2 separate regions of the Homo sapiens genome follow, and region 2 is linked to region 1. Evidence: promoter capture Hi-C in human tissues and cell types (Jung and others, 2019). All regions are on one chromosome and are shown on one strand. Each heading gives the region's core, a stretch centred on a gene start or on the middle of the fragment in contact. The rest is flanking DNA. Distances are from core to core; before and after follow the strand shown.

Region 1 (6,028 bases), core at 2,321-4,820:
CTGGAGTGCAGTGGCGTGGTCTCAGCTCACTGCAACCTCCTCCTCCTGGGTTCAAGTGATTCTCCTGCCTCAGCCTCCTGAGTAGCTGAGACTATAGGTGCCTGCCACCACGCCTGGCTAATTTTTGTGTATTTAGTAGAGACAGGGTTTCACCATGTTGGCCAGGATGGTCTCAATCTCCTGACCTCGTGATCCACCAGGGATCATGGCCTCCCAAAGTGCTGGGATTACAGGCACGAGTCACTGCGCCTGGCCAAAAAGTGACCTTTCTATCTTAGAAAGACTACAGTCTCCATCCCCCTCTTCTGCATCCCACTATCAGGGCCCTACTCCAAGACATCCTGTCTCACTGGCACTTTTGTCCTGGTCTTCTAAAAGGACTTCCTCCTCTCCTCACCTCAATCTATTCTCTACACCACCACAGTTAACTTGCTACAACACAGAGTGAACTATTGCTCCACTTCACCAATAAATACCCAAATTGCTACGCATGGTTTCAAGGTCCTTAAAGATGTGGCCCAAACATACCTTTTTTTTTTTTTTTCTTTTTTTGAGCCAGAGTCTCGCTCTGTTGCCCAGGCTGGAGTGCAGTGGTGCAATCTCGGCTCACTGCAACCTCCGGCTCCTGGTTTCAAGCAATTCTCTACCTCAGCCTCCCGAGTAGCTGAGACTACAGGCGCCCACCACCATGCCTGGCTAATTTTTTGTATTTTTAGAAGAGACAGGGTTTCACCATCTTGGTCAGGCTGGTCTCGAACTCCTGACCTCATGATCCGCCTGCCTCGGCCTCCCAAAGTGCTGGGATTACAGGCATAAGCCACCACACCCGGCCCCAAACATACCTTTTTTAGCTTCCTCTCACATTATTCCTGCAACCCACCCAATGCTTGACATCCTAGAGCTTGCATTAACTTTTTACACCTCCTACTCTAAGCCCACGGTGTCCAGCTGAGAATTGCAGCTTCTCAAAAACCACCTAACTAGAGAACCCTGTACTACCTGGGAAGGCAGAGCTCCTAGAGCCAGGGCCAGGAAGGATGCACCTGCTCAGCCAGCCAAACTCACTCTGATATTCAACAGTCCCTGCTTTCCCAGCAGACGGCCCTTTCATCATTCTCGTGCCGAGCCGCCCACCTTGGAATGACTTCACCGTGTTCAAGATTATTCTAGGCATTTTACATGAATACTCATTTATAGAATCCTCATCATCTATTGGCTGGGTGCAGTGGCTCACGCCTGTAATCCCAGCACTTTGGGAGGCCGAGGCGGGTGGATCACCTGAGGTCAGGAGTTTGAGACCAGCCTGGCCAACATGGTGAAACTCCGTCTCTACTAAAAATACAAACGATTAGCTGGGTATGGTGGTGTGTGCCTGTAATCCTAGCTACTCAGGAGGCTGAAGCAGGAGGATTGCTTGAACCTGGGAGACAGAGGTTGCAGTGAACTGAGATTGCGCCATTGCCCTCCAGCCTGAGCAACAAGAGCAAGACTCTGTCTCAAAAAAAGAAAGAAAGAAAGAATCTTCATCTATTATCTCCATTTTATAGATGAGGAAGCCAATGCACAGAGTAAGAACTCACACAAGGTTCCACAACTGTTGTAAGTGGTGGAGGCTGGAGAAGGCCTGCAGTATTTACCACCCTCCTAGGATAGGCGTGAGGTCCAAAAGAGGTAACTACAGCACATATAAAAAGCCTGGCATGCAGCAGTCACAATATACTTTTTTTTTTTTTGAGATGGAGTTTCACTCTTGTTGCCCAGGCTGGAGTGCAATGGTGTAATCTCCGCTCACTGCAGCCTCTGCCTCCTGGGTTCAAGCAAGTCTCCTGTCTCAGCCTCCCAAGTAACTGGGATTACAGGCACACGCCACCACGCCTGGCTAATTTTTGTATTTTTAGTAGAGCCGGGTTTCACCATGTTGGCCGGGCTGGTCTTGAACTCCTGACCTCAGGTGATCCGCACACCTCGGCGTCCCAAAGTGCTGGGATTACAGGCGTGAGCCACCGCGCCGGGCCCACAATATACTTCTATCTATCTAACAAATTTCTACTCATCCTTCAAGCCCTGCTCAAACTTCATCTCTTCCGTAAAGTATCTCCCAGACAGCCCCATGTGTGTTCTCAGGGCACTCTGTATGCAGCACATCTTCACACTTATTGCTCCAGTTACAGAAGTACATGTGTCTGTCTCCCTGATAGTGAGTTTCCTAAGGACAAGCAGAGTTCTCATTCTGCTCTATATCCTAGGGTGGGGCTCTGTAAGGGCAGACAGGCAGAAACCAGATGAACTCCAAGGAGGAAATCTGCCCAAGGTCGAATGGCAAAGCTGGAAGTAAAACCCAGGCCTCCTGACCTCCAAGCTGTGCTGTTAGCACACATCGTGCTGCCTCCACCACCCCACCCATGGTGCCAGGCCTCTGCTGGGTGCTGCCCTCACACAGCCGCCTCTTTTAAACAGAGAGAGGAGGGAAAGAAGCAGATGACAGGAGGCTCAGAGGAGAGGAAGCCAGCTTAGTTGGGGCCCCTGACCTCGGGCTTCCTTGGGCCCTGGGCAGCCTGCCTCTGCCACTCTGTCCCTGTCCCCAGAGAACCGCAGAGCTCTCCAACCCTGTTCAGGGATGTGGCTGGGAGTCCATGTGACATTGTGCAGGCAAGAGTCCGTGTGTCTGACTGTAGCTGTAGGTGTGGACAGCAGTATGGGTGAGTGTGTGTGTGTAAGACCGCTCAGCTTTGTGCCCCTGTGTGACAGTGAAGGGGTGTCGGGAGCTATGTATTTGCACCCTCACCTCTTGGTACACTGGGAAGTCCCAGAGCCACAGTATGACCTGGGACAGAAATACACCTCACCCCAAACCCCTCAGCCACAGGTCCCTTCCCCCAATAATCAGCCGTGCCCTGCCAGGAGGGATAGTGGGGAGGGCCCCTGGACCCTTCCCCCACCCATCCCAGGCCAGACGGGAGAGAACAAGCCCTGACAGACTCTTAACTTCAAGCTGGCAGATGCCCAGCCTTGCACCAAGTGGCTTCCACACAGCCACTTCAGCAGGGGAGGCCTCTGTCTCCAACTGACATTTGCAGGGAGGAATGAAGGCTAGCGAGAAGTGTCTTTGGCTGCTATGGGCCAAATGGCACTTGAGCGGTGGATGCCCACTCGCCTGGAAGGGTTAATTTTCATGTAGTCCCGGGAGGGGGAGGGGTATTATAAAAAGCCACAGACAAACGGAGGTGCCAGGACCCCGGGACGGCCCGACTCCCCGATGTCCCCTCACGAGGCGGCTCCAGTGCCCCACCCCGGCTGGACCACTACCCCTAGACAGGCGAAAGACGCCCGCGGTCGGGGGGAAAGGGAACCCGTCCAGCAGCACCCCTTCCCCAGCGGGGCGGCGACGCGGGCCCGGCACTGTCCTACCTCGCGGCCTGGGCGGCGCCGTCCCCGCCGCGCCGGGGCTCCGGGCTGGCCATGGCTGCGCGACCCCGGGCTGGCGGCCGCGTTATTAATAGCCGGGCCCGCGGGCCCCTCGCTCCGGCGCCCGCGCCCGCCGCACTGCCAGCTGCAACCGACACCGGATCCCGGCCGGCCCCGGGCCGGGCGCGCCCACTTGGCCGGGGCTCCTGCCGGGGGAGGAGGGAGCGGCCGCGCGGACCTGGGGGCGGGGAGAGGCTGCCCCTCCCGGACCAGCCTGGGGCGGGGGTGGGAACGGGGGCCTGGAGCTGTCTTTCCAAACCTCCCAGCCCCCTCGTCTTCCCGAACCTTCTCTCCACCCTTCCTTTCGTGAGGTCCCGTTGCAGGGGGAGTCAGAAGGGGGGTCTGAAGCCCCAGGGAGCACCTTCCCTGTCCAGCCTGGGAGGGTGGAGGCAGGGTTGGGCGGGCTGCTCAAAGGGAGCCAGCACCCCTCTCCCGCGAGTGTTTGGGGGTGTCCGCTGCCGCTCAGCGCCCTCTGGTCCCCACCCAAGAGGGGAAGGGCCGCAGCCACCCTCTGGGCACTCCGGGCTGTCCCCGGCAGCTGTCGTGAAGGGCGGGGCAGGGCGCGGCCGGGGAGGAGGGTTCACGGCCACACCCCGCGCGTTTGGGGACAGCCTGGAGCCTGGGGGCGGGCTGGGTGGCTGGGGTTAGAGAGAACTGCGGAGGAGTTTACGCCTATCACATTGAGTCCATATTTAACCCCACTTTCTGCCCCACCCTTTGAGGCTTCCTGGGGTCTCTCTCCTGCTCCACCTGTCACCCCACTCAGCCCACTTCTGTCAACTTCAAGACATACCTCCCCCCACGTCCTCAGCCCACTAGTGTGAGGGTCAAACCAGCACTGACGTCTTTCTCCCCAAGAGAGAAGCTGCTGGGCCCCTTCCCAGACCTGGGCTTCAGGCGTTCTTCCTTCGGATTCCTTTTTCCACTTAGCTACCCTGTCTGGGGAGGTCTTTGACTCAATCGCAGAAGAATGCTGGCACCATAACAAGCCCCAGGGGCTGGGGTGCCTGGGAGGCCGGTGGGGGAAGCATGCCGTGGTGTTGAATGTGTGTGGGCTTGTGTGCCCCTGTGTGACTCTGCGGTGATTGTGGGGTACATGTCTGTGTGTGAGCATGTGGATGTGTGATTGTGTGATCTCAGGGTGAATGTGTGTGGTGATTGTGCCATGGTGGAGTGTCTTTGTGGGGCTGGCGGTTTTGACTCTGTGTGGGGGGCATGCATATGGTCCCGCTTGTGACTCTGACTGTGTGCTTGTGCGTGACTGGGGGTTGATAAATGTTCATTCATCCTCGCGTCTGAGTGTGCTGCCTGTGGCTGTATATTTATATTTCTCTGTCTAATGCAAGGGGGTGGAAGATTTAACACCCAGGGCAGCCAAATATACCCTTGTAAGGTACGCACGAGAAAAAGCCAGGTTTTGAGGCTGCTGGTCATTTTCTGACTTACCCCCGAACTATTCCAGGGGAGGAGGCTGGCGAAGCCTCAGCTGCTGGGCATTTGACATCTGCTGCCCGCCAGAGGAGAGCTAAGGCAGCAAGGGCAGGCCTGCCAGAGGCTCTGTTTGCTGTGGTACCAAGCAACAGGCGGCAAGGGTGGCATTCAGAAGAGCTGGCTCTGCCCCTCCAACCCCCAGCCCAGGACCTGGCCTTAGGCTGTCCCTAGGACTGAATTTCTGACCCGCTCCTACCCTCCTGCTCAGCGCTTCTTTAGGCTGAAACCCTGAATTCCCCAGGGTCCCAGAAACTTCCCCACCTCCAAGCCTTTGTTGTTGTTTTTTTTGTTGCTGTTGTTTCTTGCAGTCAGGGTCTCACTCTGTCATCCAGGCAGGAGTACGGTGGTGCAATCATGGTTCACGGCAGCCTCAACCTCCTGGGCTCAGGTGATCCTCCCATCTCAGCCTCCCGAGTAGCTGGAACTACAGATGCACACCACCACACCTGGATAATTTTTGTATTTTTTGTAAAGACGAGGTCTCACTGTGTTGCCTAGGCTGGTCTCAAACTCCTAGGCTCAAGCAGTCCTCCTACCTCAGCCTCCCAAAGTGCTGGGATTACAGGAGTGAGCCACCACACCCAGCCAGGCCTTTTCTGCTGCTCCCTCTGCCTAGAAAACCCTTTCCAGCTCTTCACAGCCCACCTTTTACTCTCCTTCAGGTCTCAGATCACATCTCACAGAGGCCTTCTCTGATGCCTCCCCACCCCCTGCCCATAATGTCCACCCATTTATTTTTTTGTTATGGGCTTTTTTGTTTTGTTGGGTTTTGTAAAATTTTATTTAATAGAGATGGGGTCTCACTATGTTGTTAAGGCTGATCTCAAACTCCTGGCCTCAAGGGATCCTCCAGACTCAGCCTCCCAAAGTGCTGGGATTACAAGCAGGAGCCACCATGCCTCACCCCATTTACTGTTTATCCCTGTCACCCTGTTTATTTTCTGTGCAGCACTTATCAATCTGCAACAATACTATTCATTTTCTTTCTTTTTTTTTTGAGACGGAGTCTCACTCTGTTGCCCAAGCTGGAGTGCAGTGGTGCAATCTCAGCTCACTGCAAGCTCCGCCTCCT
Region 2 (5,736 bases), core at 2,201-4,700, 240 kb before region 1:
GATTTGGAAATGAAGTGGAGGCCACCCGCCTGCTGCTTGCTGCTGAAGTGTGGCAGCAAAGGTATGAGGTGTGTCTGCAGCAGGGTTGCAGGGTCCAGTCACTAGCCATGTAGGGGTCGAGAGCCTGTTTCAGGGGCAGCAATAGTGATGGTGACTTCCAATCCCTTAATCACAGCCACAACAGTGTGTTGTTGAGCTTAACAGGTACAGTGGTGATGTCCTGATTTCTTACCTTCCTGATTGCAGCAAAAATGGGTAGCTACCCTGTTGGGACAGTTTGGAGTCATCCCTGCAGAGTCATTCTCTAGCCTCCCTGATAATTTGTATTACTTAATTCCTTATATGAATTCTTTTCTGTTTAAACTAGCCAGGTTGCTTTTTGCTTAAACTAGCCAGGTTGGTTTTAACTGAACCTTGAAAAATATACTGAAGTTCAGAGCATCTAACACTAAAGGTTGTGCTGGTCTTGGTGGCGAGAGTAAGTCCCACAGCAGACCACAACAGATCTAGAGATCATAAGGCCTCTAACATTTCCTATGCCTAGTTGTCAGGGGCATGTCCTATGCAGGCCACCCCAAAAAGCCCTTTTACGTTAGCAGTCTGGAATGTTACTAGGTCATCCAGTACAGGTTGCGTGTGCCATAGTCATAAAATTTGGGACCTGAAACTTGGAGCCTGGATGCAGGAGATGTGGAATGAATACTAGGGTGAGTTCCAGGTACAGTCATAATTAAGGTGAAGGCATCAGTGACATGACTTCCCAGGTAAGAAGATACAAAAGGCTGAGCCCAGAGAAGCTTGGTGCTCCTCACTTCTGATGCTTTCTCTGCTGCTATGATGATCAAAAGTCCTCAGCACCTGAGCTGGCCTTTGGGAACCAGGTGGCAAGGACAGCCACACTAACAGGAAAGATGTAACTGCTGCTGTCCCTCTCTGGGTATCCAGCTTTACAAGAAATAGGTAAACTACTTTTCTTTGATAGATAGTATAGTGGTGTTTGGCTGACATTTTACCTTCTAAAATTATTAAGTTATCTTTAGAGTGAACTGCAATTACATTTTTGACAAGCTCTAAAATATATCCTAAACAAACCCCTCCATCTCTACCACCTCTACCCTATCCCCAGTTATCAGCATCTATCAGCAGGGGAGAGATCATATCTTATCTCTTCCCTGCTTAAGATCCTTCGAAGGTGTCCCTTCACATTCATAAGAAAAAATCCAAACTCCTTAAGGTGGCCTACAAATTCCTACATAATCTGGCCTTTGCTTCTCTATCCATTCATATTTCCTGTCGCTTGGACTGGCTACATAATTTGTGGGGCCCAATGCAAAATGAAAATGCAGAGCTCCTTGTTCAAAAACTACTAAGAATTTTAAGAGGGCAATGGCAGAGCATTAAACCAGGCATCAGCCCTTTCCTTTTTTTTAATTTTTAAAATATTTATTTAGATTTTCTTTTTGTTAGTAATTAAATCTTTCTTCTTCTTCTTCTTCTCCTCCTCCTCCTTCTCCTTCCTCTCCTTCCTCTTCCTCTTCTTCTTCTTCCCTCTTCCCTCTCTCCTCCTCCTCGTCCTCCTCCTCCTTGAAACAGTGCAGTGGCACAATCTCAGCTCACTGCAACCTCCACTTTCCATGTTCAAGTGATTCTCATGCCTCAGCCTCCCGAGTAGCTGGGATTACAGGTATGTGTCACCATGCCCAGCTAATTTTTGTATTTTTAGTAGACACTGGGTTTTGCCATGTTGGCCAGGCTGGTCTCAAGTGATCCGCCCGCCTCAGCCTCCCAAAGTGCTGGGATTACAGGTGTAAGCCACCGCACCTGGCTCTTTTTTTGTTTTGTTTTGTTAAGTATAAAACCTCACCTGGAAGCACCAGCCCTTTCTGAGTGTGCGGGCCTGTGCCACTGCGTGGGTTGCACGTCCATTAAGCTGGTCTACCTGCCATCCACTTCCTCAACCCAATGGCATTCTCCTGTTTCTTAGATATGTACCAACCGGTTTTCTGTTTTATCTTAGCATGGCTCACTACTCCTCATTAGGGTCTCTCAGCGAAGGGGGTAGCCTTTTTTTTTTTTTTTTTTTTTTTTGAGACAGAGTCTTGCTCTGCTGCCCAGGCTGGAGTGCAGTGGCCAGATCTCCACTCACTGCAATCTCTTTGGTTCAAGCATTCTCCTGCCTCAGCCTCCCAAGTAGCTGGGATTACTGGCCCACGCCCGGCTAATTTTTGTATTTTTAGTAGAGATGGGGTTTCACCATGTTGGCCAGGCTGGTCTCGGACTCCTGACCTCAGGTGATCCACCCGCCACCACTCCAGCCTGGGCAACAGAGTCTGAGACTCCGTCTCAAAAAAAAAAAAAAAAAAAAAAAAAAAGTCATACTGGCATAGAGTGAACCCCTAATCCAATATGACTGGTATCCTTATAAAAATACTTTTTTTTTGGAGACGGAGTCTCTCTCTGTCGCCCCAGGCTGGAGTGCAGTGGCGCGATCTCGACTCACTGCAACCAAAAGGAGACATTTTGACATGGAGACATATACAGGGAATATGCCCTGTGAACATGAAGATGGCCATATGCAAGCCCAGGAGAGAAGCCTGGAAGAGACCGTTTCCTCACAGCGCTCAGAAGGAAAGAACCCTGCCAACATCTTGCTTTCAGATGCCCCCAGGATTGTCAGACAATAAGATCTGTTATTGACGCCACCGGGTTGGTGATACTTAGGTACAGCAGCCCTAGCAAACGAATACACCCCCATGAGAACTAAGCTCCCTGAGAGCGGTAAGCTGCCTTGTCTTGCTCACAGCTGACAAGAACACGCCTGTACGGTCACTTAGCACCTAGTACTGCCATTTAACCGTTTCACTAGTATGTATGAACCGGAGAGCCTGTCAAGGGAAGAGCTGAATCTTTTATCTTTTGTAACGACTACCCAGTGAAAGAAACCGCGGGTATGCAATAAAAACCTGTTGAATCGATTAAACCATTTCCCTTATTTCCAGATTTTTGCGGAAAGCGCCAGTAGGTGAAATATGTGCGGACTGATGAGTCAAAGCTCTTATTCCCTGGACTGCATTAATACCCACGACGTGCTTTTCGCTCTCCAGACAAAGAGACCGGTACTTGGCAGGTCCCTCAAGTGGGACTCAAAAGACCGAACCGAGCTGCAGCCTTTCGCTAGCACTGGTCCTCGCCCCTTTTGGCATCTTGGTACTTGTAGTTTTGTCCACTCTATCTTTACCCGAAAAGCCAGCGCTGAGACCACAACTCCCATCACCCTGCGAGCACCAGCGCCTTCAGAGCGCATCCTCCGAGGGGCACCAGCGCCATTGACCACCCTGCTGGCCGAAGGGCCCGCCTTCCCGAGGCCAGGCGCTCCCGCGATTGGCCAGCCGCCCCGCCTCTCATCGGAGGGCGCCAGGTGAATGAAAGGGGGGCGTGTCGGTGCGCGGTGCTCCGTGGCTGCGCTGCTGGAACCCGCTGGAAGGTGAGCGCGAAGAAGCGGGTTGGCGCTGCCGCTTTCGTTGGTTTGGGGAGGATTCCTAGCACCCGGGAGGCTGGCTGGAGATTGGGGTTAGCGGGCAGGGTTGCCCCCACTCAGTCATCCTCCTTCGGACCGCTTGGCCCTGGCAACTCCTGGGACCTCCGCCCCGCGAGCCCTTCTAGCGTGGGGAGGGGCAGGCGCGGCCGTGGGGCCCCAGCTTCCCTGTCATTGGGTGTCCTCCGCGTCGTCCAGCCGGGGGTCGCGGCGCCGACTACTTCCACGGTGAATGGTGCCCAGGCGTGGGGGGCTCGGCCACACTGGAGAAGTGCCAGCGGCAGCGATGGCCACTTTGTCCGCGGGAGGCCATGGGAGGGGCTAGGCCTTGGGGTCCCACCCTCGGGGGCCGTGCCCTGTAGCTGGTTCTGGTGGCCTCTCTGCAGGTCGTCTGATGCTGGACGGGGGAGGGTCTGTCTTGCGAGCAGTTTAGATGCAGTTGACCCTGAAATTCTTCGTATGGAAATGGAAACTTCTCCAGTGTCCTTCTCCTCCGATCCATGCCTAAAAGAAAGGAGTGACTTCCCCAACCTGTCGCATCGTGTCCTGGAGGGTTTGAGGAGGCCGGTTAGCATAGTGGTTAAGGATGTCAACCCGGGAGTCAGTCGGATCTCTGTTCTATTACTAACTTGGTGATGTTATCTGCATCTTTGAATCTCAGTTCCTCCTCTGAAAAAGAGGATGTAGTTAGAGTATCTGTCGTACTGGATTATTGTGAGGTGAAAACTAATGTGCTTGTAAAAGCCAGGCATGGTGGCGCGCACCTGTAGTCCCTGCTACTCGGGAAGCTAAGGTTGGGAGGATCTCTTGAGCCCAGGAGTTCCAGGCTGCATTGAGGTAGGATCGTGCACTCCAACCTGGGCAACCGAGCAAGACCGTGCCTTTTAAAAATTTTAATTTAAAAAGTAAAATGAATATGCTTGTACTTTGTACAGTGTTTTATAAGGAATAGTGCTTAATATTTACTAAAATTGAGGAGCAGGTTTTTGTTATTCTCAGGTTGGTGGGACTGGAGGAGTCTTGTCAGAAAGGGTCGGAGGTGGAATTCAAGGCTGCTTTTGGCCTCTGAACAGAGACAGTTGTGTGATCTGGCTAGGACTCCCTCAAGGGTATATGAGAGTTTGTATTGCAGGTAGTTGTGTTGGCATCTGCTGTCTCCTGGAGGACAGGCACTATACTTGGTTCATTTTTCTATTCCTGGCATCTTCCTTGTGTCAGGCATTGTATGTAGCCGGTAACCGTTGAATTGAGTTGGAACCGTGGGATGGTTGGGAGGTTCCCTGCCAGAGTGCGGATAAATGTGCTTCTGAGAGCAGTCTGCCCTAAGAGCTGCTCTTCTGGGATAAGTGGTGATCCTCAGCACTTCCCGGGGCAGCAGAGCACTTCAGGCAAATGGGGGTGATATAAATAAATATTTACACAATATATACCAAGTACAGGATTGGGGAAAATTTTGAAGAAAATACTATACGGATAGACTTTTGCAACGTCAGGAAGTAGAATAAAAATAATTGCAATAGAATAAAAAATAATTTCAGTAAGAAAGCCAAAAGAAATTGGTTTTAGGTGCTATTTCTGGAAAGGAGGCTTTTCCAGTGAAAGACGGAAGTGCCCTGGGAAGAGCCCCTATAGATCAGACCATACTACAAGTTAAGAAGTGTTGTGCGTACTTACATATTTATCTACCTGGCTTACCAACTCCTTACCCCTCTGCCCTGCCTCCTTTTTTTCTTAGTTAACAAAGAAAAAAGCCAAGGCAGAAGGATCACTTGAGTCCAGGAGTTCAAGACCATTGAGACCAGCCAGGGCAACATAGTGAGACCCCATCTCTACAAAAAAATGTTTTCAGAATTAGCTGAGTGTGGTGCTGCATGCCTGTAGTCACAGCTACTTGGGAGGCTGAGGTAGGAGGATTGCTTGAGCCTGGGAGGTCGAGGCGGCAGTGAACTGTGATCATGGACTGCACTCCAGCCTGGGTAACAAAGTAAGACCCCGTCTCAAAAGAAAAGAAAAGCAATACATGCACATAGTAAAACATTCTATCAGAAAGGTTTAAAATGAAAGGCGAAAGTCCCTCCACACACTTGTTTTTTTTTTTTTTTTTGAGATGGAGTCTCGCACTATCGCCCAGGCTGGAGTGCAGTGGCACAATCTCTGCTCACTGCAGCCTCCGCCTCCACCGCCTCCTGGGTTCAAGTGAT

What was found. Contacts are between HindIII fragments. The study calls those that stand out against the background at their distance.
Region 2: the fragment with the promoter of ZBTB8B here is called in contact with the fragment with the promoter of SYNC in region 1 in 1 of the 25 tissues and cell types used here (adrenal gland).

Annotation. Positions count from the first base shown.
Region 1 is chr1:32,699,200-32,705,227 of GRCh38, forward strand. It overlaps SYNC (syncoilin, intermediate filament protein), which reads right to left and starts at 3,571. Exons shown (of 5, transcript NM_030786.3): 1 at 3,409-3,571. The coding sequence starts at 3,461. RefSeq lists enhancers at 3,039-3,804, 3,805-4,570 and silencers at 3,931-3,980, 4,031-4,120. The HindIII fragment of the contact is 12,190 bases long and covers 1-6,028 here.
Region 2 is chr1:32,461,622-32,467,357 of GRCh38, forward strand. ZBTB8B (zinc finger and BTB domain containing 8B) reads left to right here and starts at 3,451. Exons shown (of 4, transcript NM_001145720.2): 1 at 3,451-3,484. The HindIII fragment of the contact is 24,686 bases long and covers 1-5,736 here.